Linked DNA regions of Homo sapiens: regions 1, 2 and 4 are each linked to region 3. Evidence: promoter capture Hi-C in 16 types of primary human blood cells and fetal thymus (Javierre and others, 2016). All regions are on one chromosome and are shown on one strand. The core of a region is centred on a gene start or on the middle of the fragment in contact, and the rest is flanking DNA. Distances in the headings are between cores, read along the strand shown.

Region 1 (7,169 bases), core at 1,220-3,719, 550 kb before region 3:
GACGTGGCCTGGTGCATGGGGAGTGAGATTCCAGTGACCCAATGGGGACCAGGAGTCGGGAGATGCTGCTCGGAGAAGCTCCGGACCTGCAAACCAGCCTGCTCAGACTGACTGGGAGCCTAGAGGCATTCATTCATTCATCCATTCATTCTACAAATCTGTATTAAGCGCTGATGAGTTTGACGGTAGGGATATACCAACAAACAAAAGAGATAAAAAATTTTGTCCCTGTGGAGCTTACATGATAGTGACAAGAGACAGACACCAAACACAATAAACAAATCATGTTGCGTGTTAGAACATGATAAATGGGATATTTTGGGGGAAGAAAGGACACACGTGAGAGGGAGCAGGAGAGCCAGGTGTGGGAGGTTGCAGCATTAGGGGTGGTTGGAGCAGGCTCCCCCAGGGACATTTGAGCAAAAACATTAAAGATGTGAGGGTGAACTGTGGGGACTTCCAGGGGGAGGAAGCTCCAGACCCAGGGGATTGCTGGTGTAAAGGCCTTGAGGCAGGAGTGGCCTGGGTTCCAGGGAGGCCAGTGGGTGCAGCAGACCTACGAGGGAGGGGAGAAGCCCCTCATACAGGCCTCAGAGGGGGTGCTCTCACCCTGAAGGTGGAGTAGGTAGGATTGGACTCATCTTAACAGGCTAAGTCTGGCTGCCATATTGAGAATAGGCTTTGGGGGTAGGGGTTGGGGTTGTGACGTGTGTTGGGTGGGGTAGGAACAGGCCATGTACCACTGCCATTAAAGCATTTCAACTGGGGACCTGTTAATATTCTTAACTGCTCCCCTGCATTTCACAGCTGCCTGTATCCAAATACAATGGGGCCACCTGACAGCACACCTCAGGGTGACTTCATGTTCAAATATAATATCAACCCAATATCCAATAAAAAGCTTCAAAAATCATGCCAACATCTTAAGTCCCTCAAGGCGGTGTCAAAGCAGGAGCCAATCCATGACCTACCGAGAGAGGAGAAAGGAAGAAGCCAGTCAGGCAGGCAGTTAGGGTGGGCCCTCAGTTAAATTCTTTCAAACAAAAGAACAGCCAACTTGCACAGAGGGGCTTGCCTAAGACACGCCCACAGCCACATAGATAAGAAAAGCTACACAGGTGACTCACCCAGACACGCCTGCAGTGGAAAGTTCTGTCCCGTAACACATGTACAGTAAGGGGAACAAAGCAATATGGAGTCACTAAGCTAAGGGCCCACATGCACACTTGGAGGATGGGGTGGAGCTAACAGAAATTTGTGTCTTATGCAAATGAGATGCCCAGCCCTCATCAGTTTCTTATAAAAGCCTTTGCATTCAACTGTAAAGACAGCAACCCTCTTCTGGGCCCCCTCTCCATGGCAGAAAGCTTTCTTCTTTTGCTTAGAAAACTTTTGCTCCAATCTCACCTTTTGTGTCCACACTCCTTAATTCTCTGGGTCATGAGACAAAGAACTCCAGGTAATACGTCACAACGAGAGACTGCTACGTCGTGGTGCATTGGTGAGACTTTAACACTAAAAGAGAATACCGTGTGGGCCACCTCCACTCATCCATCTCTCTCTGAAGTTCTCATGACCATGGCTCAATATTAATCTCCTCCCTCCATCCACATGCTTGCTCCCTGCACCCCCAAATCTCATCTGCCCAGCTGCTTTTTTATTTAGTTCCCTTCTCAGTTTAGTTTTTTCTTCTGCAGTTGGCTTCACATTCTATTCTTATTACTGTTTCTGAAAGCTGTTAATAAATAAACAATTAAACTACAAAACATTACAATTAAACAAACCAAGCAATCAACCAAACAATAAACTCTCGGTTGTCACCTCACAGGACAAGGACAGCTCTTGTGATTAAGTTGCAGGCTCTACTGCTGCCCACACCACAGATACCTTAGTTAGATTTGCTCCTTTGTCAAATGTTTAAGTCAGATAAAGGACCAGTCGTAGGGCAGTGGATCTCAAACCTAATTGTGGCAAAACAAAACAAAACAAACAAACAAAAATCACCTAGAAAACTTGTTCAACTGGTTAAAAACACAGATTCCTGGGCCTGAATCCTAGAGATTCCCACCCAGAGCCAACATCCCAGAATCTGCATTTTAGGCAAGCTCCCTGTGATTCTGAAGCAGCGGGCCATAGGCAATTCATTGGGAAGCGGTCAGTGTCCAGATATCTCAGAGGACCCCTCTCTAAGCACTCTTGATTGGTCCCAAAGACCCCCCTTCCCCCAGTAGGCTGGCTTCTTCACCCTGTCCTCATCCTCTAGCATCCCCGAGAGGAGGTCACCTGGGACATTCTTGCAAATGGGAGGATCTAGAATCCAGGTCTCTGCCTGCTGCCGGCCATCCCCAGGCGGGCCTCCTACCAGATTCCAATCTATGAAACGAAAAACTGGGGATCCTTTTCCAGCCCACGTTACTGAGTGCATCTCAGTTGTTTCATTATGCTAGCTGTGAGGTTTTGCACTTGTGACAAACAACAGAAGGGACCTTTTGTCACAGTAAGGAAATCCTCGCAAGCATGTGCCTAAACGTGACTGCCTGCTGCTTCGTCTTTGCCAGTCTCATCTGGAGAGGACCTGGCGCATGCTCTTGGTTGGTTTTCCTCCATCTGCATGAAATAGGAGCCACTGAGAGCATCTTCCTCCCCTTCAAAGCCTTCACTACTTCTTTCTGCTAGTTCCTTGTCCTTGCAGGAGCTTTAATAGCTCAATTCCTTTCCGTCTCTGGAGGGGCCCACAGTGCCCTCTGGTGGTTGAACAGCATGCTACACTTTTTTTTTTTTTTTTTTTTTTGTGGGGTAGGGAGAGGGTGGACAGAGTCTCCTGTCGCCCAGGCAGGAGTGCAGTGGTGCAATCTCGGCTCACTGCAACCTCCGCCACCCCGCCACAGGCTCAAGCGATTCCCTTGCCTCAGCCTCCCAAGTAGCTGGGATTACAGGTGTACACCACCACACTGGGCTAATTTCTGTATTCTTAGTAGAGTTTCACCATCTTGGCCAGGCTGGTCTTGAACTCCTAGCCTCAAGTGATCCACCCGCCTCCTCCCAAAGTGCTGAGATTACAGGCTTGAGCCACCGTGCCTGGCCTATGGCACACTTTTGTAGAAGTCCAGGGTGCCTGCTGCTCTCAGGGCTAGGTCCTGTGCCCATCCTGGGAGAATGGGAAAGCCTCTGTATGCATTCTGCTCTGCCTGAGCCCTCCACAGAGCCAGAACCAGGCCTAGGGGTTCAAGGGTAAACTTCTTTGAGGAACTGGAAACTGAGATGATGATGAGATTAGGGATTGGCTATGAATACAAACTGGGTCATGGTCCAGATACAGAAACATCAAAATCTGACCTGTGGGCTCTGTCTGGGAAAATTTAGGGCAAATTGGCACTTGTAGGTGGCAAGGAGTGGCTTGTTTACCCTGCCCTCCTCACTGTCCCTTGTTTGGACCAATTCTGCCTTCTTAGGAGGACATGACAATTCTTCCCCCAGGATCCTAGGATGCACTGAAGCCTCTAGTTTTTTCCTGCTGGTGAGTACTAACATATGCCCATTAACTTGAATGCTTATCTTTCACTGGCCAAGACCAAGCTTTGACAGGTACCCCCAGAGCACTTTCATAGGCCCGTGAGTCAATTCTGAACCAAGTCATGGGGGCAGCTGAGTCAGCTCCCCTCAATCCCGGCCTTGATAGCTGGGCACAGTTGTGGCCCGGGGTCTGAATGCTGCAACCACAGTGCTTAAGGTCTGGGTTGTGGAAGCTGGAGAACCACTGCTGGGCCTGAAGGCTGGAAACCTCGCTGTTGCCCTTGCGAAATAAGGACATTTCCACTTTATCCCCTAGGGCAGAGCATTTAGTGAGTCAAAACCTTAACTCCACATCCAACAGACTCTGTTTCAGAACAGTGTGTCAGATGCTTCAGTATCAGCTGACATCCTGGACGTGTAACCACCCCTTTCTGCTCATACTTGGGCCTTGTGTCCAGGTCTGGGTGACTGTCCTCACCATTGAGTTTTTGCTTGAGGCCCCGGGCTGTCTTCTGGAAAGTGGCTATCATGGGTTCCTCAGGGTTCTACCCAACCTCTCTGTAAATGATCAGACGCCAGTAGCTGCTAAAGGGGAAAAGTGTCCCCTCTGCCAATGCATCTGAGCTCTGGTCTTGTCCAATGGGGATGACTGGTGCCAGGTTGCCTGGAGTCCTGTGCTGGGAGGGACTTCGCCAGGTGGTCTTCCTTGTTCTAGATGGTTCTGGAGATTCAAATGGCCCAGTTGAGACCAGAGGTGAAGAGAGCAAGACAGTGCCTTCTTGATTTCATTATTTCACATGTCACTTCATAGGGGAATGACTGCTAAAATGAATACGGTCTGTGCATTTTTTCTAAGTCACAATTACAGAAGAGATAGAATGACAGGAGAGTTGTGAATCCCATAGTCCCCACACCTAATTTCAAGAGGGGAGGAGTTCCATTGGAGCAGCTTTGGGACGAAAGAGAAGCAGTCAGGGTCCTCAGGGCTCAGGGCAGGAAAGCAAAGAGTCCAAGGCACCTGCCAGGACTGACCCCGCCCACCGACTCCCATAACTACTTGCAGAATGTGAGCTTGCTCTGAAGGCCTGGCTCTACCAGAGCTTGGAAAGCATCTGAGAAATGTACCCACTCCAGATGTTGATGCCAATGAAGTCTACCTCTCCTGAGGGAGGCTGCACTTCACCAGGAGACAATGTCTCCCCAGTTTCTAAGAATGAATCTTCCAAGGTGGAATTTCTGCTATCAGCTAGAGGGGGGAATGTATTTTTACATGTAATTCCTCCAGTCATTCCTGATAAGAAAGCTTTTTTTGTTGTTCCATTTTTGCAACCTTTTGGAGTCATGTAAAACCTCCCACATCATAACCTGAAGGTAGTCCTGAGCTGATGCAGGCTCCCTGGCCAGTTGGGGAGGAAAGGGTTCAGGAAAGAGTGGAACCCAGCTGGATCAGATGGGAGAAATTGAAGCAGTGTTGTTCACCTGGGGTAATACTTGAGGTTTGTGGTCTCATGCCAAGGAAATCAAGAACATGGACACACCTGGAGTGAGATTAAGAGTGGACGTTTGGCCGGGCGCGGTGGCTCACGCCTGTAATGCTAGCACTTTGGGAGGATGAGGCAGGTGGATCACCAGGTCAGGAGATAGAGACCATCCTGGCTAATATGGTGAAACCCCGTCTCTACCAAAAATACAAAAAATTAGCCGGGCGTGGTGGTGGGCGCCTGTAGTCCCAGCTACTTGGGAGGCTGAGGCAGGAGAATGGCGTGAACCCGGGAGGCAGAGCTTGTAGTGAGCCAAGATTGCACCACTGCACTCCAGCCTGGGCGACAGAGCGAGACTCTGTCTCAGAAAAAAAAAAAAAAAAGAAAGAGTGGAGGTTTAATAGGCAAAAGAAAGAGAAAAAAGAATAACTCTCCTGCAGAGAGAGAGGAGTGCCCAAGTGGGTCTTCCAGCCCACGCCAAAATGCACCGGATTTTATAGACTGGCTTGAGGAGGCAGTGTCTGATTTACATAGGGCCCACAGATTGGTTGGACCACATGTGACATTTACATAGCACAGGAGGAAGTTGGCCACCCCACCCTAATCTTATTATTATGCAAATGGGTTTTCTACTTGGTCAGCACCATGTTGTCTGCTCCTTACTGTACATGTGGTTGGCAAGGAAAAGGGAAGATGGAGCCACCGTGTTGGACATGCCTGGCTCCCAGATAGCCCTTTCCCATTGGCACAGCTGCCGGCATTCACCCGTGCAAGCTTCCAGCTTGCTTATCTATGTCTGCAGCTCAATTTTACAGGCTGCTTTTTGTTAGAAAAGAAATGACTTGGGGGCTGCTTTTCATTAAAAGGAAAACCTCAGCGAGGACTTCCTTACCCTCACTATCTGCCTAAATAATTTCTTTTTAACGCCTATGTTATTATGGCCTGGGTGCAGGACTGGAATGGGTCCCTGGAGAGAGGCAATTGGCATTGTCTGCAGGGGCATCACTGATGGTGGGTTCATTAAGAGTTTTTAACATCTAAGGAGGTACGTGCTGAACGTGGATGAGGCCTGAGCAGTGGGAAACGACCAGGAGGGCAAATCCTGCACCTACAGCTCAGAGAGTCTGGGGGAAGGTGAGGACCAGCTGGGCTAAGCAGAATAACCCAAACCCTGCTCTCGCAGGCAGAAATCACTTGAAAACCAGGGGAGCAGTACAGCAACAAACAGGAGCAAGGGAAGAGAGTGTTCCGGGAATAGGGGTCTTGGCTGTCATGGCAATCAAACTGCTAGTGTTTGAAAGTCTCAACTTGAAAGAAATAAATGACTCTTTAGGGTACCCCCCACCCCCTGCCCAAGATACAGAGAAACCCAGAGCCATGATTAGATGATAGACAGACAGACCTGGATCAGCTTACCAATGCGAGAACGGAAGACAGGGTTAGGTCATGAATGGATATAAGATTTTTTTACCCAGCAATCCTGGCTGCTGGTAAACTGGTAGGGAGGGGAATCTTTTATCATAATGCATTGAGCTTATGCTAGGAATGGGAACCTTTAGTGTACCTCTCAGAAGGATTTGGAAGTCTAAAGTCTAGGCTGATAAAATCATCATCTCTAGAACTCAGCATTCACTCCAAAATGGCACCAGGAGTGGCCATCTTTATGGCCATATTTGTTGTCTTTCCATACAATGAAGGGAATTCTACTTTATTATATGCTTTTCTTGAGCCAGTGCTCAAACTGCCTCCGCCCTTTCCTGGATCATAGGTGAGGTCAATCTATTTCACAGTTCACACTGTTGTGAAAACACTGAGAAATAGGAGCAAAAGAAATCTCTATACATTTTCTGTTCATTAGTCTGTGACACTGGGTACCTAAATGGAAACTCCAACACACTCTACTCCCAGTTCCTCACTGGGAGGCTGAAGGGGGCCTGCTGGACAGGTTCTGCCTCCTTATGGGGCAGGGCCTCGGTTTTTGATGGTCTTACTCCTCCATGGAGACTAAGAATGAAAAGCCAGAAACACAGACCAGGACAATTTAGTAAGTTGTAATGATTTGCAATTTTTGTCTTGAGAAAAGCATTATGTTGAGAAAAGTTTATGTCCTTTGAACTTTTGTTTAAAAATAGCAATTAGCATTATTAACATGCTAAAAAATAGGTTTAAATACTA
Region 2 (7,127 bases), core at 4,610-7,109, 700 kb before region 3:
ACGCCGTAGTATCGCTTCTGCCTTAGAAGCATAAAGACACATTCCCAAGAGCCAGACTGTGTAGGGACTCTGTGAAAGGCACCCCAGCCCAGGGAGTCCATGGTGCTATTCCACAGTTGAGGATGGAAGTATCCAGTTATACTTAATGCCACCAGCAATCAGGATCATCCAGCTTTCTGCCTTTGCTCTGATTCTATGTTGACCAAGGCCTGGAGCCTGCAGCCTGGAGCTGTGGATGAGCAACCAGCATACTGGAAAGTAGAGCTCCACACCTGTCAGGGTGGGGCCAGTCTCGGACTGAGACAAGTTCACCAAGGTGTGCTGCCATTTGGGCACCTGCCTGGGGTGCCTAGTGGCTTGCCCCTGATAGCACCAGGCCTTGATGCTATCCATTTCCTCCAAAATGCAGTAGATAAGTCTGGAGAAACCACCAGTGCAGCTAGATGAGAAGGCTGAGGCCCAGGCCGGGAAAGAGATGGTCATGACAGGCATATAAACACATTCATCCTGATTGTGACTCAGGAATCACCGGGAGAACCACTTAGGAAGAAAACCACTCCTCTGTCCTTTGTTGGCTGTGGAGAGAGAGATTTTTTCCTCATGTCTACAAACCCTCTATGATCATAATTCCCATGTCTGGCCAAGCAGGTGAAGCCCCTGGGGCACAGGTGGAAACACAGATGCCAGGCCCATCCCCTGAGCATCTGGCTTGGTAGATCTGAGGTGGAACCAGCACTTGTGCTCTTAATGTGTTTTCTTGTGTTTACAGCAACCTGATTCTAAGGGTTTGGTCCAACAATTTTCTTTTTTTTTTTGTTACAGAGTCTCGCTCTGTTGCCCAGGCTGGAGTGCAGTGAAGCAATCTTGGCTTACTGCAATCTACCTCCCAGGTTCAAGCGATTCTCCCTCAGCCTCCCAAGTAGCTGGGACTACAGGCGCATGCCACCATACCTGGCTAATTTTTGTATTTTAGTAGAGACAGAGTTTCACCATGTTGGCCAGGCTGTTCTCGAATTCCTGATGTCAAATAATCCACCCTTCGGCCTCCCAAAGTTCTGGGATTACAGGAGCCTGCCACCACCCCTGGCTAATTTTTGTATTTTTAGTAGAGACAGGGTTTCACCATGTCGGTCTGGCTGGTCTCAAACTCCTGACCTCAAGTGATCTACCCACCTCGGCCTCGCAGAGTGCTGGGATTACAGGCATGAGCCACTGTGCTCATCCTGGCCCAAGAATTTGACCAATCGATATTAAGGTTGTACAGATCAAATGTCTCAGGGGACTCTAGAAGGCTGGAAGCTTGCGGGAGGAGATCTCCTAGCATCACTGCGCAGGCAGTGTGGTGTGTTTAAATAAGCAGGAGGCTGGAGAGCTGGGTTCTGTTCTGTTCTTCGCTCAGCCACTCCCCAGCATGAACCTGGAACAGCATCCTTCTCCCTTCTCTTCTCTCAGCCCTGGTTTTCCTATTTGCAAAGGGAGAGGTTTTAAATAGATAAGCCCTAAGATTCTCTTCAACTTGACAATTTATGTATGCAAAATTCATGCACCACCACCGGGGGGCGCTAAATCCATGGTTAGCTGGGCTTTGGATCTGAGTAGCCAAAACTATAGAACCTTTCGTTTTGCAACCTGGCAACTACTAAGCAAAAGATCGTCAGGGTTTGGGAGTCATAGATGGGGGTATTTTGTACACGAACTTATAATATAAAACAAAACTGTAAATATTTTCAGTATAAAATTTGATGAGTCATAAATGAAGTTATACTAGTGGAAATTTTAGCTCTTTTGAGAATTATTTCCTTTCCCCCCAAATCTTGTAGTTTCCACCCATAATCTCTATTACAAGACACATTGATATCCTGAAATGTACTGTGCTAGTAATGGGATAGTAATCCACATTGGTGCTGGAGTTCAGATCTTTTAAAGGAAGGTCAAATGATCTGTTTTTCATATTAAGACATTTTTAAAGTTTTCCTTTGTTTATATTTAGAATAGGTTGTAATCTGAGTAGAGGAACTAAACCTTGAAGGACTGTTGAAGGAGAGATAAGATAATGAGTGACCCTTCTAACATCAAAATGCTTTAAGGTCTGTAGATATCATATGATTCAGTGTTGCTGTTTAGCAATAACCATTATGTGACTATAATAGCTGTTGTGTTGATGTTTGCGCAGAAAGGATCTTAAGCAATTATGCCTTATTGTACTATTCATTTCTATTTGTAATTCATTCTCTTCCCTTATTGGAGTACTTTTAGAAGATCATGAAGTATGGAAGGAAGGAGTGGTGACTGCTTTCTGTTCAGAAGTGAACGTAGTGGTGTCAGGAGGTAGAGGTCACACTTACACATTTCTTCCTCCCCAGGAGGAAGTCAGGACACAGGGGGGCACAGCACAACAGGGCTGGCCAGGGCTGGTGCTGTTTGGGATAGGAGGTAGGATGGGCAGGGGGAAGCTGGGTATGGGCCAGGGAGGCTGCCCTGGTGCTCCATTATGAGGGGACAGCAATCATGCCTATGTTTGTGTGAACCCAAGATTTAGCTCCCACTTACAAGTAAGAATGTGCGCTATTTGGTTTCCCATTTCTGTGTTACTTTGCTTAGGATAACAGCCTTCAGCAGCATCCACACTGCTGCAAGGACATGGTTTCATTCTTTTTTTATGGTGTGCAGTGGCAAAAGTTAATAGAAGAATAGAACATCTTCTACTTTCAAGACCAAGAAGTGCTCACACCTTGCAGGAATTGGAGAAGGTTTGGATCACATCACCAGGGGTAGCATCTTGATGAGCTGAAGTGCTGGCTAAAGACAGACAGAAGATGGGGTGATGGTAGAGGGAGAAAGTTATAAATACAACTTCCGGCCGGGCACGGTGGCTCACGCCTGTAATCCCAGCACTCTGGGAGGCTGAGGCAGGCAGATTACAAGGTCAGGACTTCGAGACCAGCCTGATCAACGTGGCGAAAACCTGTCTCTATAAAAAAAAATACAAAAATTAGCCAGGCATGGTGGTGTGCACCTGTAGTACTAGCTACTTGGAAGGCTGAAGCAGCAGAATCACTTGAACCCAGTAGGCGGAGGTTGCAGTGAGCCGAGATCGCACCCCTGCACTCCAGCCTGGGCAACAGAGTGAGACTCTGTCTAAAAAAAATAAATAGATAGATAAAAAAATAGATAAGGCTGGGCACAGTGGCTCACGCCTGTAATCCCAGCACTTTGGGAGGCCAAGGTGGGCAGATCACCTGAGGTCGGGAGCTCAAGACCAGCCTGACCAACATGGAGAAACCCTGTCTCTACTAAAAATACAAAATTAGCTCAGTGTGGTGGCGCATGCCTGTAATCCCAGCTACTTGGGAGGCTGAGGCAGGAGAATCACTTGAACCCAGGAGGCAGAGATTGCAGTAAGCCGAGATTGCGCCATTGCACTCCAGCCTGGGCAACAAGAGCAAAACTCCATCTCAAAAATAAAAATAAAAATAAATAAATACATACATAGATAAATAGAGATGAATTGGAATTAACTAGAGGCAACAAACTTCATCCAGATGTTGACAGTGACTGATGGGACTTGGCCGCAGTGGGGTGGGGGTGAAGGTGGAGAATAACACATTTTCCCTTGCACGAGGGAGTGTTGTGTTGCCTGGTGTTGGTAGGAGGATGTTCTTTCTACTGCCGTCACTGGGAAGTTTAAGTGTGTGCAGAAGGGTATGTCCTTTAGATATATGTGCACTTACATATTTGTGTCTGGCTGTTTTCCTCAAAGAGGAGGTTTCTCAAGGCAGGACCTGTGTCTGGCACAGGTAGTGTTTCTCCAGTGTCCCACAGGCAGCAAGAGTTTGATAATGAGTTAACACATGTGTGCTGTAACCCACCTCTGACTTTTCCCACCCACAGCTGTGCATGTCTGATAAACTGTGGGAACAGATAGTCCAGTCGACCTGCGACACCATCACTCCTGACGTGAGGGCCCTGGCGGAGGACACAGGCTGGAGACAGCTGTTCTTCACCAACAAGCTCCAGCTCCAGCGGCAGCTCCGCAAGAGGAAACAAAAATATGGAAACCTGAGAGAAAAGCAACCTTAGGCACACATTTTCCTACCAGCAGGGAGCTCAGGCATGGCTGTGTTTCTCTTCAGTGTCCAAATCTCTTCTGTCTCCTTTTCTTAAGAACTAAGAGGTTTTGTTGATGCGTGGAGCCATTTGAAACTCGTAGGGGATTTGCACACAAATGCAGCAGAGTCTGGCTCCCCAGTGCCTTGCTAGAGTCACCGTCATTCTGAGGTCAAATCATGGCCCGAGGACAAGGGCTGTAAGACAGGGAGCCCCATAGGCCATCATCATCCTTATCCCACACCCATTATAAAAGAGGTTTCTATTGTATATAAACAAACAATAAATGATTATTAGCAGGTTTTTATTAGACATCTATTTTATCTAGGCATTAGAAAGGGTAATGGGGCTTTTGAATTTTTTCCTGGCATTGTGTCGTCTGCGTCCAGCCATGAAGCTGGTGGCTGAGTGTCCCCACCAGGAACTGTGAAGGGCACGTACCACGGGAGGCACTCAGGGTGGGTGCAGCTGCCTTCCCAACTTTGTTCTGCTAAGTCCATATTCAGGGCCCTATCCTTGTGAGCCCAGGATGCCAGGGTCCATCCCCGCATGTAGACAGCTTCCGACCTGGTGCTGGAGCATGACTGGAGAAGTGCAGGCATCCTGCTTGCGGACCTTGCTCAAAGTACAACTTCCCAGGACTACTTCACATTGTTAAATAAACCTATAAACATTTCTTTTCTTTTCTTTTTTTTTTTTTTTTTGTATTTTCTTTTTAGTAGAGGTGGAGTTTCGCCATGTAGGCCAGGCTGGTCTTGAACTCCTGACCTCAAGTGATCTACCTGCTCTGGCTTCCAAAGTGCTGGGATTACAGGCATGAGCCACTATGTCTGGCTAAAACCTATAAACATTTCTTAGAGAAATGCTGTTCCCCAAAGGAATGTGAACAGCTACCACTTTTAACAAGGATATTTAAGAAAACAGACTATGAGTTAACTAAGTAAAAATGTAAATATGGTTTGCATGCTGTTAACATGGCAGAGGGGTAAAAAGAATACAGTCCTGGGGAGAAAGGTCACTTCACTGAGAAGGCTTACTTAAAAATGTTTTTCTCCCTGCACTTTCATGATTATTAAGTACCCCTAGAAAATGAACTCATAGCAGCAAATAATCTAATGACTCCTTTTAGGTTACAGAGCAAAGTAGCTTTCTACTTCCACATCACATTATAATATAGCCTTATAATTTCTTCTTTCCTGCAACCTTCACTTTCCTACCTAGGAAAACTCACCTCCGGTGCCAGAGAAACTTCCCAGGATGCACTAGGGCCCTGTGAACAATACAGAAGTTGTGGACTCTGGCTCTTTGTCCCACCTAAGTCCTTCCAGAAGGGCTCTACAGCATGGCTTAGTGACATTAAAAAAAAAAACTGAACCCATGTTAATATCAAACAAGATTTTAATCTTCATTCACACACCCTTAAAACCCAGTCACGGGGCTCCCCGGTGCCAGTTTGAGACCGTCAACCTAGCCCTCTCTGCTTCTCATTGCTGGAGGTACACACAGTCAAAAGTTTTCCGTGACTGTGAAATCCAGTGCAATCTGCTTCCCAGCAGATGAGGAGCCTGACGTGGTTATGTCTGGATTTAGTCCAAGAACAGAGCAAAGCTTTAATTGTCAAGAGACCCAGGCCTCATTCTCCACTTAGGAGAGTTTGCTAGGGCAGGTACAGGTAAAGGTAACCAGCAGGCAGCTGAGAGCAAGAAGGCACGTGCTCTGCAGAGCTCTAGCTGCCTTGGCTCTCCCTGAGCTCCCAGACTTCACTCATGGCCTAATTTTCAATGACAGAACGTAGGTTTTATCGTGAGGATGCAGACACAACCACAATTACGTATGTCAACATAACTTCATAAATATGTAACTGTAACTTATTGGTAACATCAGTGCAAGATGATTAAAGCTTCATGTGTAGTATTTTATCAACAAACAGATTCTGAAAGCTTATGGACATGCGCAATAGTTGATTCAGCTTCAATCAATAAGAACATAAATATGGCAATTTGAAAACACTATGTATATACCTACTCACATATATATTATACTTACGATATATACTTATATGTAGTATATAATAATATTACATATAAAAATGTTATAAAAATAAATGCTAAAGTAAATAAAAAAAGAGCCATTAATATGTTAACTATTGTTAAATAATAGCTAAAATAATACAGATTATTAAATTATTTTAATACTTACTTGCCATAATAATCTGAGTGCCTTATTACTTGATTACAATTGTTTTTGCCAAAATAGGAACAATATCATCAAGTGAACATCCTGTGTCTCCCCAGCATCCTCAGTGGTTGAAACACTTTGTCCCTCCCTCCCCCATCTCATTTTCCATGTGAGGTTCCATGTGACGATCCCATAACATGGTAATAGGCAGCGATGGTCTTGACTTTCTGCTTCTATTAACAGCTTTCATTTCTATTTCTGCTTTCATGTGGATGGATAAATCTGCTTTATGTCTTAACATTTCAGAGTGAAATGCCACACAATTTTTTTTTTTTTTTTTTTTTGAGGCAGAGTTTTGCTCTTTTCACCCAGGCTGGAGTGCAATGGTGCAATCTCAGTTCATGGAACCCTCCACCTCCTGGGTTCAAGTGATTCTCCTGCCTCAGTTTCCCGAGTAGCTGGGATTATAGGAGCCTGCCACAATGCCCTGCTAATTTTTGTATTTTTAGTAAAAACAGGGTTTCACCATGTTGGCCAGGCTGGTCTCGAACTCTTGACCTCACGTGACCTGCCCGCCTCAGCCTCCCAAAGTGCTGGAATTACAGGTGTGAGCCACGCTGCCCAGCCTTACAGCATTTTATAATCTTGTCCTTTTTCATCTTTTCAATCAACTGTGTTTCTACTCTGTTCTCATTTACCATTGTAATTATACAATACTGAAAATTTCCAATGGTTTATATATTTAGTGGTATAAGAACAATCTATTAACAATAGAAAATACATATTTTTAATTTATAACTAAATAATAAACATATTTTACTTAATGTCAAGTTCTACTACTA
Region 3 (7,804 bases), core at 2,316-4,815:
ATTTTTTGTATTTAGTAGAGATCACCTGAGTGGATCACCTGAGATCTTCTTTCCTTCTCTTTCTTTTTTTTTTTTTTAACATAGTCTCCCTCTGTCACCCAGGCTGGACGGCAGTGGTGTGATCTCAGCTCACTGAAACCTCCATCTCCTGGGTTCAAGCAATTCTCCTGCCTCACTCTCCGGAATAGCTGGGATTACAGCCATGCAACACCACGCCCTGCTAATTTTTGTATTTTTGGTAGAGATGGGGTTTCACCATGTTGGCCAGACTAGTTTCGACCTCCTGGCCTCAAGTGATCCACCTGCCTCTGCCTCTCAAGGTGCCAGGATTATAGGCATGAGCCCCCTCACCTGGCCAGATTTTCCTGGATCTCTTCCTACCAAACTGGCTCCTCCCTCTCAGGGTTCTTTGCTGGTTCCTTACCATTCCCTGACCTGTCATTGTTGGGGGACTGGGCTTAGTAGTAACACTCACATCCTAAAGGATCTCACTGAATTCAGAGGTTTTACCTACTCTGAGAACCACCTAAATTCTGTCTGTGGCCCAGACTTCTCCTCTGAAGTCTTCTTTTTTTTTTTTTTTTTTTTTTTTTGAGCCGAGTCTCGCTCTGTCACCCAGACTGGAGTGCAGTGGCGCAATCTCAGCTCAATGCAACCTCTGCCTCCCAGGTTCAAGCAATTCTCCTGCCTCAGTCTCCAGAGTAGCTCGGACCACTGGCGCACGCCACCACACCCGGCTAATTTTTGTATTTTTATTAGAGACGGGGTTTCACCATGTTAGTCAGGCTGGTCTCCAACTCCTGACCACAGGTGATCCGCCTGCCTCAGCCTCCCAAAGTGCTAGGATTACAGGCGTGAGCCACCGCGCCAGGACTTCTCCTCTGAACTCTTAAGTCCAACTTCCAACTTGGGTGTCCAACAGGCAGCTCAAACTTTGTATGTCCCTAAGTAAATTTCCAAGTTCCTCCCTTCACATCTGTTTCTGCTTAAATTTTCCCCATATCACCAAATTGTATTTTCCAGTTGCTTGAGAAAAAAAAAAATTAGAAATCAGGAAAATCCTTTTAGCTTTACCCTTTATTTATTTATTTTTTTTCTTGAGTCAGGGTCTCACTCTGTGGCCCAGGCTGGAGTGACAGTGGCACAGTCACAGCTCACCGTAGCCCCGACTCTCCAGGCTTAAGTGATCCTCCCACCTCAGCCTCTGGAGTAGCTGGGACTACAGGCACATGCTACCACGCCTGGCTAATTTTTTTTTCTAGAGACAGGAGTCTCACTATGTTGCCCAGACTGGTCTCCAACTCCTGGCCTCAAGTGATCCTTCCTCCTCTGCCTCCCAAAGTGGTGGGATTACAAGCGTGAGCCACCTTTTATTATTATTATTATTATTGAGACTGAGTACTGCTCTATTGCCCAGGCTGGAGTGCAGTGGCACAATCTTGGCTCATTGCAATCTCCCCTTACTGCAACCTTTGCCTCCCGGGTTCAAGCGATTCTCCTGTCTCAGCCTCCCGAATAGCTGGGATTACAGGTGCCCGCCACCATGCCCAGCTAATTTTTGTGTTTTTAGTAGAGACAGGGTTTCACCATGTTGGGCATGGTGATCTCGAACTGACCTCAAATGATCCTCCCACCTTGGACTCCCAAAGTGTTGGGATTCCAGGCGTGAGCCACCTTTTAAACGTGTCTACAGGTGATCATTTTACTCTTCTACTGCCACCACCCTGGACAGAGCCTTATCTTTTTTTTTTTTTTTTTTTTTTTTTGAGATGGAGTCTCCCTCTATCGCCCAGGCTGGAGTGCAGTGGCGCGATTTCGGCTCACTGCAACCTCCGCCTCCCGGGTTCAAGCAATTCTCCAGCCTCAGCCTCCCAAGTAGCTGGGGTTATTTTTGTATTTGTAGTAGAGACGGGGTTTCAACATACTGGTCAGACTGGTCTCGAACTCCTGACCTCAGGTGATCCCCCTGCTTCGGCCTTCCAAAGTGCTGGGGTTACAGGTGCGAGCCACCACGCCCGGCCGGACAGTCTTATCTTTTGGCTGGCTGATTTCAACAGGCTTCTCGCTGGTCCCCCTGCTGAAACCCTCAGGGCTTTCAGTCTGGTCCTCATACCACAGCCACAGGGATCCTCCTGAAATGTCATTCCACGTCCTTTCTCTGCTCGCAACCCTTCAAATTGCTTCCCATCTCCTTGAGAGTAAAAACAGGAAGTCCTAACTTTGGTTGGTAGGGCCGCACTTCTTCCTCATCTCTTCCCCTATCTGGGGCCGCTTTCAAGCCAGCAGATTCTCGCCTCAGGGCCTTGGTCCTGCTATTCCCTCTGCCTTTCCATACAGAAAGCTCCCAGGCTCTCTCTCTCCAGGAAGCTGCTCCCTGAATGAACACTGTAAATAACAACACCCTGCTTTCTCTCCCCTCCTCACCCAGTGGTGTTTTTAACTGTCCAGTATTTGTTTTTTTGTTGTTGTTTTTTGTTTGTTTTGTTTTTGTTTTTTGGAGATAGTCTCGCTGCGTCGCCCAGGCTGGAGTGCAGTGGCGCGATCTCGGCTCACTGTAACCTCCGCCTCCCGGGTTCAAGCGATTCTCCTGCCTCAGCCTCCTAAGTACCTGGGAATACAGACGCCCGCCACCACGCCCGGCTAATTGTTTTTTGTATTTTTAGTAGAGATGGGGTTTCACGGTGTTGGCCAGGCTGGTCTTGAACTCCTGACCTCGTGATCCGCCCACCTCGGCCTCCCAAAGTGCTGGGATTACAGGCGTGAGCCACCGCGCCTGGCCCAATTGTCCAGTATTATACATACCTGTAGGTTTATTAGTCAATTATTTGTCAACTGTTTGTGCTAGGAGCATGGACTGTTTCGCTCACTGCCCCATCCCTGACGTACAGGAGGCGCTTAAAAAGTAGTTCAGTTACACATTAAAAACAAAGAAACAAAAATACACACATATGGCATTTGTATGTGCCAGGCTCCGTTGTCAGAGCTTTGCAATGCACTGTCCCGTTCATCCTCAGAAGCCCGTGGCTGGTACCACTATATTATTACACACTTTTTTTTTTAATGTGTGAGGAAATCCAGGCACAGGGACGTGAAACAGCCCATAGATAGCAAATGGTGGAGCAGGACTTAAATCCAGGTTGCTGATTTAAATAGGAATATTCCCATTAATCTGGAACGTTCTGGCACTTGTCCCCCTGGATGCTGTGTCCCCCTGGATGCTAAAATGAAGCGATCTGCTCCAAGAAAGTAAGAATCGGTCTGCACAAAGTGGGATCCCGGCCTCTCGCAGAATTAAGCTTGAAGAGTTGAGGAAGTGGTCGTTGAAAGTGGGCGTGCGATTCCCGCAGTAAGAGCGCTCAGGCGGAGGAGAAAGGGCTGAGCCCCGCCTTGGAAGCTGCGGCGGAGGAAGAGGAACTGCGGGGCTTGGCTTCTGCTTTTCTCTGCGGCCCCTCCCGCTCGGGCCTCGCGCCTACTTGCGGCGCCCTGAGTCCGCCGGCCGCTCGGGGGCGCCCGAGGCGGAAGGGGGCGTTGCGGCACCGCCCGACGTCGCGTCCTCGGCGGCTGCGCAGTGCGCACGTCAAAGCCGGGCTCGGGCCGCAAGCGGGGCGAGGGGTTCGGGGAGCGGCGCGGCCTGGGAGACACAGAGCCTTCAGGCGCCGGGGCGGGGGCACAGGCGAAGACTAAGGCGGCGCCGGGCCCCACAGCAGCAGCCGCAGCCCAAGCGAGCGCAGCAGCGCGGCGGCAGCCGCGGGAGCCCCTGGGCAGCCGTCCGCCCGCGCAGCCGCCGCCGCCGCGGGAGCCCGTCGCCGGGAGCAGGAGCGGGCGGAAGACAACGGAGGGGCCGAGCGTCCGAGCCACTCCGCGGGGACCGAACGAGCAGCCCGAAGCGGCGGCGGCCGAGGACGGGGACAGCGACGACGCGGAGGCAGAGAAGGGAACGCCCGGCCCAGCCCCGTGAGTGACCCCCGGCCGGCCCTGCTCGTGGTGCGGACGCCTGCCCGGCTTCCGCCTGCCCCGCTGGGCCCTCACCGGCCCCGGGGCTGCCTCCATTTTCCTGGGTGGCGGCGGCCCCGGCCCAGCTTGTCCCCGGAGCCCCCGGGAGCAGCCGGGCCCAGCCTGCCCTCTCCGCCCGGCTCGGCTCCGGTCCCTCGCTGAGACGCTCCCTTTGCCTTCGCCGGCGTGGGGCGCCCGGGGGCCTGCAGTCCAGGCGCTCCTGCCTCTCCCCCCGTGGTTCTCTGGCGGGGCTGGCGGCGCGTGGTGGTCCGGGCCGGAGTCGGGCGGGCGGGGAAGTGCGGGCCGGGTCAACTGTCACCGGCTGCACCCGGGCTTCAGCGCCTCGCTCCCGCCCCTGGTAAACTTCCTGTTGTCGGGAGGCAGATACCAGCTTTGTGACCAATTCAGGAAAATGCCTAACTGATTTCTGGTTAGGAATTGGGCGGTCGGAGCGTTCTGGAGTTCAATGGAACCACCCCAAGCGCAGACTGCGTGCAGGCGCCGTAGTCGGCCCGCACCGGAGGGATTCAAAGGTGAAGCGGGCCCCGGTCCCCTCCCCCGAGGAGCTTAGGCTCTGGTGTGAGAGATAAGACGAGAACACAAATAACTGCGATACCGGGAAGGAGGTGATAAGTCCTGTGAAAGAACGACGGAGTGCTAGAACGGCACCCGGAAAAACCGAACCGATCACTTCTGCCTCGCAGAAACCTGGAAGGCTTCCTGGGCGGGGGATGCTGAGCAGAGTCTTGAAGGCCTGATGGGATTTAGGAGAGGAGGATTGCAGAAGAGGTGTGTGGAAGGGGTAGCAAAAGCGAGAAGACAAAGCCTAGAAATCATGGATAATTCCGTTTGTTGGCATGGTGCAGGGGGCGGGGGGTATTGGGCTAAAGAGGTATTTTGGGGCCAGATCCTTGAATGCTGTAGAGGAGCTATTTGAGCAGCATTCTAAGAGAAACTTAGAGCTCATTTCTCAGTGACTCATGAGCCCGGAAATGTAGGCTAGGGGATATTAAAGGCGCTCTTGTGAAAGGAGAGAGGAGGAGGCCCAGTCAGGAGTTGACATTCTGTGCCTTGAATGTAATGCAGTTTCAGATCGATTTTGACAGCTTCCCAGATAATCAAGTAAATCCATGCCCAGGCTAAGCAAAGTACCTTTGCAGAAAGCTTCATTAGATATCAGGCTCTTAAGAGGTAATGGAAAGGTGTCTATAAAATAAGCTCATCTGCACACAGAAGGTGTTTCTATTTGTGCGTTCGCTACAGTGCATAAAAACTTCTTGCACTTTGTATTAGGCGTATGTACTTTGGAATTACTAAGCTAAACCTACATTCTTTGAGGTGGCATTTGTGTAAAATAACATAAATTGATGATTTTTAAAAAATGGTTAGTAATATTCTGCTGTAGAAAGCCAGACGTAGACCTTTTACAGAAAGGTAAAACTTTGTTTTTATATTTTATTTTATTATGAAATCTTTATAGTAGAGCCAGAAGTGAAAGTGTTTAGCTTTATTTTGTAGTTTGTTCAAATTGTTAGGAAGTAATTAGCAGCTGTATTCGAAATCTAGAATATACGATCTGTGAAAGCAGCTTAGGGCCTAAGTTTTGTAAGCTTGCACTTGTTTGCGTGTATGACAAGTGAATGCCACCTTTTTGCAGTTTAAAAATTTTCTGCTTTTCAAAATAATACATGATCTTTGTCAAAGCTTCCAAAATTCAGGGAGTGCTAGAAAATCTTTAAAACATTTTCTATAATCTTACCACTTAGATTTGGTTACTGCTAACATTTTTGCGTATTTTCTTTCCAGTCTTTTTCTGTGTATTTTTTCTTTGCATAATGAAATATATTGTATGCATATGTATACACACACACATCTCTTATTAAGCTTTTCTTGTCATTAAATATCTTCATATAAAAAATTTTTACTCAACAATGGAAGTCTTCTAAGCATGTTATGTTTTCCTGACAAGGTTGTATTATTTACCTCAGATGAAATGCAGTAGTTAGGCTTAATAACTACTAGTGTGGACAGAACTTTTTCTGAAAGTTTCTTGTTTGAAGTATGTTTCTTTCTCTGTAAGACTTGGATCCTCTTGCTTGTTGAATAAAGTTTTTCTTGGCAGGATGTGTGTTGTCATGAGGTGTGGAAGAGGAAGAAAGCACACAGATCTCTGCTATAGGAGTGAATGGACTTTTAAAGGGATGTTGTCAAAAGATTACTGTCATGGCTGGTATACCATCCCCCACAGACGGCGATGCAGTGTCCCTTCCCACTCCCCACTTCGCTCCTGAAAAATAGTCTCTACACTAGGGCCATCCATATAGGTTAACTATTTTTTGAACATGACATCACGAAGACTCAGGCTGGATATAAGCATAGAATATTTCATGAAATGGTTTGCTACTATAACAAATGGGTGGTATTTGCCTTTTTGGTTTTGTTTTGTTTTTTGAGACAGGTTCTCACTCGGTCGCTCAGGCCGGAGTGCAGTGGTGCGAACATGGCTCACTGCAACCTCAACCTCCTGGGCTCAAGCCATCCTCTCACCTCAGCCTCCTGTAGACGGGACCACAGGCTCGTACCATCACATCCGGCTAATTTTTGTATTTTTATAGAGACAGGGTCTTGCCATGTTTCCCAGGCTGGTCTTGAACTGCTGGGCTCAAGTAATCTCGCCTTGTCCTCCCAAAGTGCAGGGATTACAGGCGTGAGCCACCACGCTTGCCTGGATATCTGTTTTTTTATTTCAAGGCAGCTTACTTCCCTTCATTAGCATTTTCTACTTCAGGTTCTTGTACTAAGTCAGTTTTTTCCCATGTATTTTACATTCTAAGGTGTATTAATAAGATCTCTGTTTCTGTTTCATCACGTATGAAGTAAGATGCTGAGTAAGGCTGTATACGTTTCCTAAAGTTAATGTAGAAGAACTGCTAAGAAAGTCCAGTATAAGTATGGGGTTTGGTAACTTGATTTTATTTGAATGTTTGTATATTGCAAATACGTATGCCACACAGGGTCTTTATTACCTTGGAATATTTACTAAAGTTTTCTGTTTTGATCAACTTTTGTGGGATTACAGATTTCTTTAGTTATTGCCATACTTTCCCAAGAGCCTTTTTTCCAGATTGATGACTAATCACTCACAGTTTAGCCATCTGCCATGAAAATACACAAATCCAACCTCCCCAACCCCCAAAAATAAAATTCAGTAGTAGGACGAATTTTGTTTCAGGTATTGTCTTTTGTTTACCTTTCTGGCATTGTTTCTATTCCAGCTCTATTTTATTTTTTAATTTAAAAAATGTTTTAATTAAAAGAGATGGTGTCTCATTCTGTTGCCCAGGCTGGTCTTGAACTCCTGGGCTTATGCCATCCTCCTGCCCCAGCCTCCCAAAGCACTGGGATTATAGGCCTGACCACACTGGCCTCCAGCCCTATTTTAAAAGGTCAGGCCGAGCGGGGTAGCTCACTCCTATAATCCCAGTGCTTTGGGAGGCCAAGGTGGGAGGATTGCTTGAGCCCAAGAGTTGGAGGCCGATCTGAGCAACATAGCAAGACCCTATATCCACAAAAATAAAAAATTAGCCGGGCATGGTGGTGTGTGTGCCTGTTGTCCTAGCTACTCAAGAGGCTGAGGCAGGAGGGATTGCCTGAGCCCAGGAATTTGCAGCCTCAGTGAATTTTGATCACTGCATTGCAGCCTGAGGTGACAGAGTGATACCCCATCTCAAAAAATGTATATATAAAATAAAAATAATAAAAATAAAAATTCATTTTCCTCTTTTTCATTGCTTCTTTTAATTGGGCATTT
Region 4 (7,148 bases), core at 2,713-5,212, 520 kb before region 3:
ATGAAATTTAAAATAGTTTTTTTTTCTAATTCTGTGAAGAATGTAGAGACAATATACCAGAATCTCTGGGACACAGCTAAAGCAGTGTTAAGAGGAAAACTTGTAGCACTAAATGCCCACATCAGGAAGCTAGAAAGATCTCAAATGGACACCCTAACATCACAATTAAAAGAGCTAGAGAGGCAAGAGCAAGCTAATCCAAAAGCTAGCAGAAGACAAGAAATAAGTAAGATCAGAGAAAAATTGAAGGAGATAGAGACACAAAAAACCCTCAAAAAATCAATGAATCCAGGAGCTGGTTTTTTGAAAAAATTAACAAAATAGATCACTAGCCATATTAATAAAGAAGAGAGAGAAGAATCAAATAGACAGAATAAAAATGATAAGGGGGAATATCATCACTGATCCCACAGAAATACAAACTACCATCAGAGAATACTATAAACACCTCTACACAAATGAACTAGAAAATCTAGAAGAAATGGATAAATTCCTGGACACATACACCCTATCAAGACTAAACCAGGAAGAAGTTGAATCCCTGAATAGACCAATAACAAGCTCTGAAATTGAGGCAGTAATTAATAGCCTACCAACAACACAAAACCCAGGACCAGATGGATTCACAGCTGATTCTACCAGAAATACAAAGAGGAGCTGGTACCATTACTTCTGAAACTATTCCAAACAATTGAAAAGGAGGGAACTCCTCCTTAACTCATTTTATGAAGCCAGCATCATCCTGATACCAAAACTGGGAAGAGACACAACAAAAAAAAAGAAAATTTCAGGCCAATATCCCTGATGAACATCAATACGAAAATCCTCAATAAAATAATGGCAAGCCAAATCCAGCAGCACATCAAAAAACTTATTCACCATGATCAAGTCGGTTTCATCTCTGAGATGCAAGGTTGGTTCAACATACACAAATCAATAAGCATAATCCATCACATAAACAGAACCAAGACAAAAACCACATGATTATCTTGATAGATGCAGAAAAGGCCTTTGATAAAATTCTACATCCCTTCATGTTAAAAACTCTCAATAAACTAGGTATTGATGGAACATATCTCAAAATAATAAGAGCTATTTATGACAAACCCACAGCCAATATCATATAAAATGGGCAAAAGCTGGAAGCATTCCCTTTGAAAACCAGTACAAGACAAGGATGCCCTCTCTCACCATTCCTATTCAACATAGTATTAGAAGTTCTGGCCAGCACAATCAGGCAAGAGAAAGAAATAAAGCGTATTCAAATAGGAAGAGAGGAAGTCAAGTTGTTTCTGTTTGCAGATGACATGATTATATACTTAGAAAACCCCATCATCTCAGCCCAAAAACTTCTCGAACTGATAAGCAACTTCAACAAAGTCTCAGGATACAAAATCAATGTGCAAAAATCACAAGTATGCCTTTACACCAACAATAGGCAAGCAGAGAGCCAAATCATGATGAACTACCATTCACAATCACTACAAAGAGAATAAAATACCTAGGAATACAGCTAACAGAGGATGGGAAGGACCTCTTCAAGGAGAACTACAAACCACTCCTCAAGGAAATAAGAGAGGACACAAATGGAAAAACATTCCATCTTCATGGATAAGAAGAATCAATATCTTGGAAATGGCCATACTGCCCAAAGTAATTTATAGATTCAATGTTATTCCCATCAAACTATAATTTCAATTTATAAAAATTTATTGAGACTTGTTTTGTGGCTATCATATGGTCTATCTTGGAGAATGTTCCATGTGCTGATGAGAAGAATGTAATCTTCTGTAAATATCTATTAGGTCCATTTGTTCTAGAGTGTAGTTTACATCTATTGTTTCTTTTTTGACTTTCTGTCTCAATGATCTCTCTGGTGCTGACAGTGGAATACTGAAGTTCCCCACTATTATTGTGTTGTTGTCTTATCTCTTTTCTTAGGTCTAGTAGTAAATGTCTTATGAATCTGGGAGCTCCAGTGTTAGCTACATCTAAATTTAGGACTGTAATATCTTCCTGTTAGATTGATCCTTTTATCATTATATAATGACCTTCTTTGCCTTTTTTTACTGTTGTTGCTTTAAAGTCTGTTTTATCTGATATGAGAAAAGCTACTCCTGTTTACTTTTGGTTTCCATTTGCATGGAATATCTTTTTTCACCCTTATACCTTGAATTTATATGGGTCCTTGTGTGTTAAGTGAGTCTCTTGAAGATAGCAGATATTTGGTTTGTGATTTTGTATCCATTCTGCCAATCTGTATCTTTTAAGTGGAGCATTTAGGCCCATTTATGTTGAACATTAATATCAAGATGTGAGGTACTGTTTCAGTCATCATGTTAATTGTTACCTACATACGTTGTTTTCTTCATTGTGTTATTGTTTTATAGACCTTGTGAGTTTTATGCTTTCAAGAGTTTGTATTCTGGTGCATATCAATCTTTCGTTTCAAGAGTTAGAACTCCTTTTGGCATTTCTTATAAAGCTGGTCTGGTAGTGACAAATTCCCTCAGCATTTGTTTGTCTAAAAATGACTTTATTTCTCCTTCATTCATAAAACTTAGCTTTGCCAGATACAAAATTCTTGGCTGAGAGTTATTCTGTTTAAGGAGACTAAAGATAAGACTCCAATCCCTTCCAGCTTGTAAGGTTTCTGCTGAGGAATCATGTATTTTTCATCCTTGCAAATAGTAAAGATTTCCCTGACTATTACATCAATAGGTTTCAGGGGGAGGGCAGATGCTTGCTAGAATTGAGAAGCCACTGCTCAGTTGGGGCCATTTTGGCAAGCTTAGACAAAATCTTGAAGCACAGTATTTGTTGGGAGCAAAGAGGAATTTATAAATTCCAAAAATTACCTGTACCTATCAAAAGAAAACTTTGGAGGTCTGAATGTCAAGTTTTCCTATAAGTCATTGGTAGTGAACACTCAGCAAATGACAGAGAGTATGTTTCCTCCAGCCTAGGGAGGCAGTGGGGTGGGGAACTAGGAAGAAGAGGCCAGGGAGGGGAAGTGCAAGCAGGCAGATATGACTTTCCTTCTAGGCCAAACCCCAAGATTGAGGCATGCTGGGAACAAGCAGAAAAATTAGAGGGCTTTCCAAAGCAGTGAGCCTCATGTCCTAATTCATGTTTGGGAGCTGGGACAAGATCTCTTCCCAGGCTGGCTCCCATAAAGGTACAGAATCCAAGAGAATCCCCACTGACCGGCATATCTTAGGCCCTTTGTGAATAATTTTGAGTAAAAGAATAAAGAAAAAGGGGCCAGGTGCAGGGGCTCACACCTGTATCCGAGAACTTTGGGAGGCTAGGGCAAGAGGATCACTTGAGGCCAGGATTTCAAGACCAGCCTGGACAACATAGCAAGACCTGGTCTATACAAAAAATTTACAAAATAAATTAAAAAAAGAAAAAGGGAAAAAGAAAGGAACAGAAAGGGAAGAGGGAGAGAATACAGAGGAGAAAAAGAAAAGTGGGATGAAGCAGAGGAACCAGAAAAATGCAGCTTTTTTGTTTCTTATTCTGCAAGTAACACAGTTTGTGCACTGGAGTAGACACATGCATGCAGGCATGCAAGCAAGCATGGGTTGACTGAGGTAGTTCTGAACACTCTATGACTCCAAATCTAATCCAGTTTGGAACTGAAAGTCTGAATCCTGCTTGGGGATTTAGGTTTCTTGTGTCTATTCTTCTGGGCTCTGACCCTAGACAGGAAACAATTCTAATCTCAAAATTGTCTGATGCCTCATGTCCACCTCAACCCCATTCCCTCCCTATGATAAGAGAAAAGAAGACTAGGTATAAACCAAGTTGGTGTTAGGTTTGCTCTTCCTTTGTTGGGGAGTCTACTGATGGGGTGGCCTAGGGGACAAGGTTGGGGCTGGCTGTGCTCCAGGCACATGTGGCTGGAGAGGAGGTCATGCCAGCTGGTCAGGTGAGGGGCCTGATAAACACCAAGAGAGTAACAATTTCACTTTTCTTCCTTATGTCTTGGGCATTTTTTTTTTCTGTTTTCTTTTTGAACTTGGCCATATTCTTTTCTCCTTTTTTCTAAAAAAGAAAAAACCCACATCTTTTATGGCTACAAATATTGATCTACAAACCTGCAATGTCATTACTTTTTTAAGTAATTTTTTTCCTGTTTTCCCTGACTTTGAGAAGGCAAGAAAACCATGTGACCTATGTGAAAAAAGTACTCCATTTTAGCTGGAAATTGAATTAGGGGATTGAATAAAGATGGATCAGGAATATACTAGAGGACTAACATTTAATATATGTCATTTAAAAAGTTTTTTGGGGACAGAGTCTTGTTCTGTTATGCAGGCTGGAGTGCAGTGGCATAATCTCAGCTCACTGCAATCTCCACATCCTGGGTCCAAGTGATTATCGCACCTCAGCCTCCTGAGTAGCTGGCATAACAGGTATGCACCCCCAGGCTAACTTTTGCATTTTTAGTAGAGACGGGGTTTCACCATGTTGGCCAGGCTGGTCTTGAACTCCTGGACTCAAGTGAACCTCCTGCCTCAGCCTCCCAAGGTGCTGGGATTACAGGCATGAGCCGGCATGCCTTATTAATTTTAAAATTAATAAGCAGTTTTTCAAGACTAGACAAAGATTGTTATAAACCATGGATATTAAAAGGTTTCCTAGCCAAAATTCAGGGCCAGAAATTACACAGTTATGAGATAAACAGATTTGAATGTTTAAAAAATTAAAAATATACAGAAGGAGCAGGACTGAAAAAAACTGTTCACAGTTCAAAAAACACCCCGACACTATTAAAGCAAAAACAAAATTTAAATATACATAGCATATAGAAGGTTAATATCCTTATTAGATAAAGCAAAAGATGAATGGTAATCTAGGAAAATAAGCAAAAAATATAAGTTAAAAATGCTCAAGGAGGAAATGAAGATGACAAATTTATTTAGAAATCATCTCTATATTACTACTAATCAAAGAAACTCATTGTTTGGATGTTAAGGATACCTAAACATTTAAAAAGTTTTATTACATCCAGCATTGAGGATGTAGGAAATGAATACTCATATATTGTTAAAGGGAATATAAATCATTATGTTTTCTGGACAGCAAATTGGTAACATGTATAATTAAGATATAGATTTTAACCAAGTAAGCTTGTGTTTAAGAATCAATTCTAAGGAAATTATTGGACAAGTGTGCAAAGATACAAATACACACAAACCTGATTTCTATTTTCATATAAAAATAAGAAATAAACTGTCCACTAGTAGGTGATTATTTAAACAAATTGCGGTGAATCATACGTAACGTGCCATGCAGTTAAAAAAATAGATAACATTGATACAGAGATGATACACAATGAAAAAAGTGATTTATAGAATAGACTATATAGTATGAGCTTATATATAAAAAGAAAAATGTATGCATACTTATACAAAAATAAAGTGGGGGAAGCAGATTAAATAGATGTTTAACTTTATGATTTATAATTTTCTTTTTTTTAAAATTTTATTATTATATTTTAAGTTTTAGGGTACATGTGCACAATGTGCAGGTTTGTTACATATGTATACATGTGCCATGTTGGTATGCTGCACCCATTAACTCGTCATTTAGCATTAGGTATATCTCCTAATGCTATCCCTCCCTCCTCCCCGCACCCCACAACAGTCCCCAGAGTGTGATGTTCCCCTTCCTGTGTCCATGTGCTCTCATTGTTCAATTCCCACCTATGAGTGAGAACATGCAGTGTTTGGTTTTTTGTCCTTGCAATAGTTTGCAGAGAATGATGGTTTCCAGTTTCATCCATGTCCCTACAAAGGACATGAACTCATCATTTTTTATGGCTGCATAGTATTCCATGGTGTATATATGCCACATTTTCTTAATCCAGTCTATCGTTGTTGGACATTTGGGTTGGTTCCAAGTCTTTGCTATTGTGAATAGTGCCACAATAAACATACGTGTGCATGTGTCTTTATAGCAGCATGATTTATAATCCTTTGGGTATATACCCGGTAATGGGATGGCTGGGTCAAATGGTATTTCTAGTCCCAGATCCCTGAGGAATCACCACACCGATTTCCACAATGGTTGAACTAGTGTACAGTCCCACCAACAGTGTAAAAGTGTTCCTATTTCTCCACATCCTCTCCAGCACCTGTTGTTTCCTGACTTTTTAATGATTGCCATTCTAACTGGTGTGAGATGGTATCTCATTGTGGTTTTGATTTGCATTTCTCTGATGGCCAGTGATGATGAGCATTTTTTCATGTGTTTTTTGGCTGCATAAATGTCTTCTTTTGAGAAGTGTCTGTTCATATCCTTCGCCCACTTTTTGATGGGGTTGTTTGTTTTTTTCTTGTAAATTTGTTTGAGTTAATTGTAGATTCTGGATATTAGCCCTTTGTCAGATGAGTAGGTTGCGAAAATTTTCTCCCATTTTGTAGGTTGCCTGTTCACTCTGATGGTAGTTTCTTTTGCTGTGCAGAAGCTCTTTAGTTTAATTAGATCCCATTTGTCAATTTTGTCTTTTGTTGCCATTGCTTTTGGTGTTTTAGACATGAAGTCCTTGCCCATGCCTATATCCTGAATGGTATTGCTTAGGTTTTCTTCTAGGGTTTTTATGGTTTTAGGTCTAACATGTAAGTCTTTAATCCATCTTGAATTAATTTTTGTATAAGGTGTAAGGAAGGGATCCAGTTTCAGCTTTCTACATATGGCTAGCCAGTTTTCCCAGCACCATTTATTAAATAGGGAATCCTTTCCCCATATAATTTTCTTTTTCTTTGTTTTGAGACAGGGTCTTACTACATTGTCAAGCTGGTTTCAAACTCCTGGGCTCAAGCAATTCTCCCATGTTGGCCTCCCAAAGTGCTGGGATTACAGGTGTGAGCTACCATGCCTAGCCTGATTTACAATTTTCTACACTGAAGATTTTATTAGGAATATTGTATCACACAAGACAGGGTAGGCTGTGCTGCAGTAACAAATGAAACCAAATTTTGGTGGTTTAACATTGAAAAGTGTATTTCTCTATCACATGAAGTTCTCTGTAGGACAATAGGACCCTCTGTAGGACTGGAAGTCCTCTGTAGGGCCCTCCAGGGCTGCTGTCCTCTATGTGGTAGGTCATGCTGCTTTGGCCTTCTGGCGCCTCCCTC

Evidence for each region. Contacts are between HindIII fragments. The CHiCAGO score rates a contact against its expected background, and 5 or more counts as called.
Region 1: a contact is called between a fragment that was not itself captured here and the fragment with the promoter of CAB39 in region 3, in 1 of 17 cell types (neutrophils). The highest score is 5.3, in neutrophils.
Region 2: a contact is called between a fragment that was not itself captured here and the fragment with the promoter of CAB39 in region 3, in 2 of 17 cell types (naive B cells and total CD4 T cells). The highest score is 6.2, in naive B cells.
Region 4: a fragment that was not itself captured here is called in contact with the fragment with the promoter of CAB39 in region 3 in 7 of 17 cell types (total B cells, naive B cells, non-activated CD4 T cells and 4 more); the score reaches 10.7 in total B cells.

The regions. Positions count from the first base shown.
Region 1 is chr2:230,157,605-230,164,773 of GRCh38, forward strand. No RefSeq gene overlaps it. Among named protein-coding and RNA genes, the nearest start is that of SP110, 59 kb to the right of the region's middle. RefSeq lists a silencer at 2,722-2,791. The HindIII fragment of the contact is 2,209 bases long and covers 1,366-3,574 here.
Region 2 is chr2:230,006,805-230,013,931 of GRCh38, forward strand. FBXO36 (F-box protein 36) reads left to right here. Exons shown (of 4, transcript NM_174899.5): 4 at 3,892-6,315. The coding sequence ends at 4,080. Among named protein-coding and RNA genes, the nearest start is that of SLC16A14, 59 kb to the right of the region's middle. RefSeq lists a silencer at 1-174. The HindIII fragment of the contact is 292 bases long and covers 5,714-6,005 here.
Region 3 is chr2:230,709,277-230,717,080 of GRCh38, forward strand. CAB39 (calcium binding protein 39) reads left to right here and starts at 3,566. Exons shown (of 9, transcript NM_016289.4): 1 at 3,566-3,954. LOC124907996 (formin-like protein 16) reads right to left here and starts at 4,050. Exons shown (of 4, transcript XM_047446832.1): 1 at 2,803-4,050. The coding sequence starts at 4,050. The coding sequence ends at 3,292. RefSeq lists a silencer at 3,338-4,277. The HindIII fragment of the contact is 1,861 bases long and covers 3,295-5,155 here.
Region 4 is chr2:230,191,057-230,198,204 of GRCh38, forward strand. All of the region lies in intron 10 of SP110 (SP110 nuclear body protein), which reads right to left. It also overlaps a transcript of SP140 not described here. Among named protein-coding and RNA genes, the nearest start is that of SP110, 25 kb to the right of the region's middle. The HindIII fragment of the contact is 2,348 bases long and covers 2,789-5,136 here.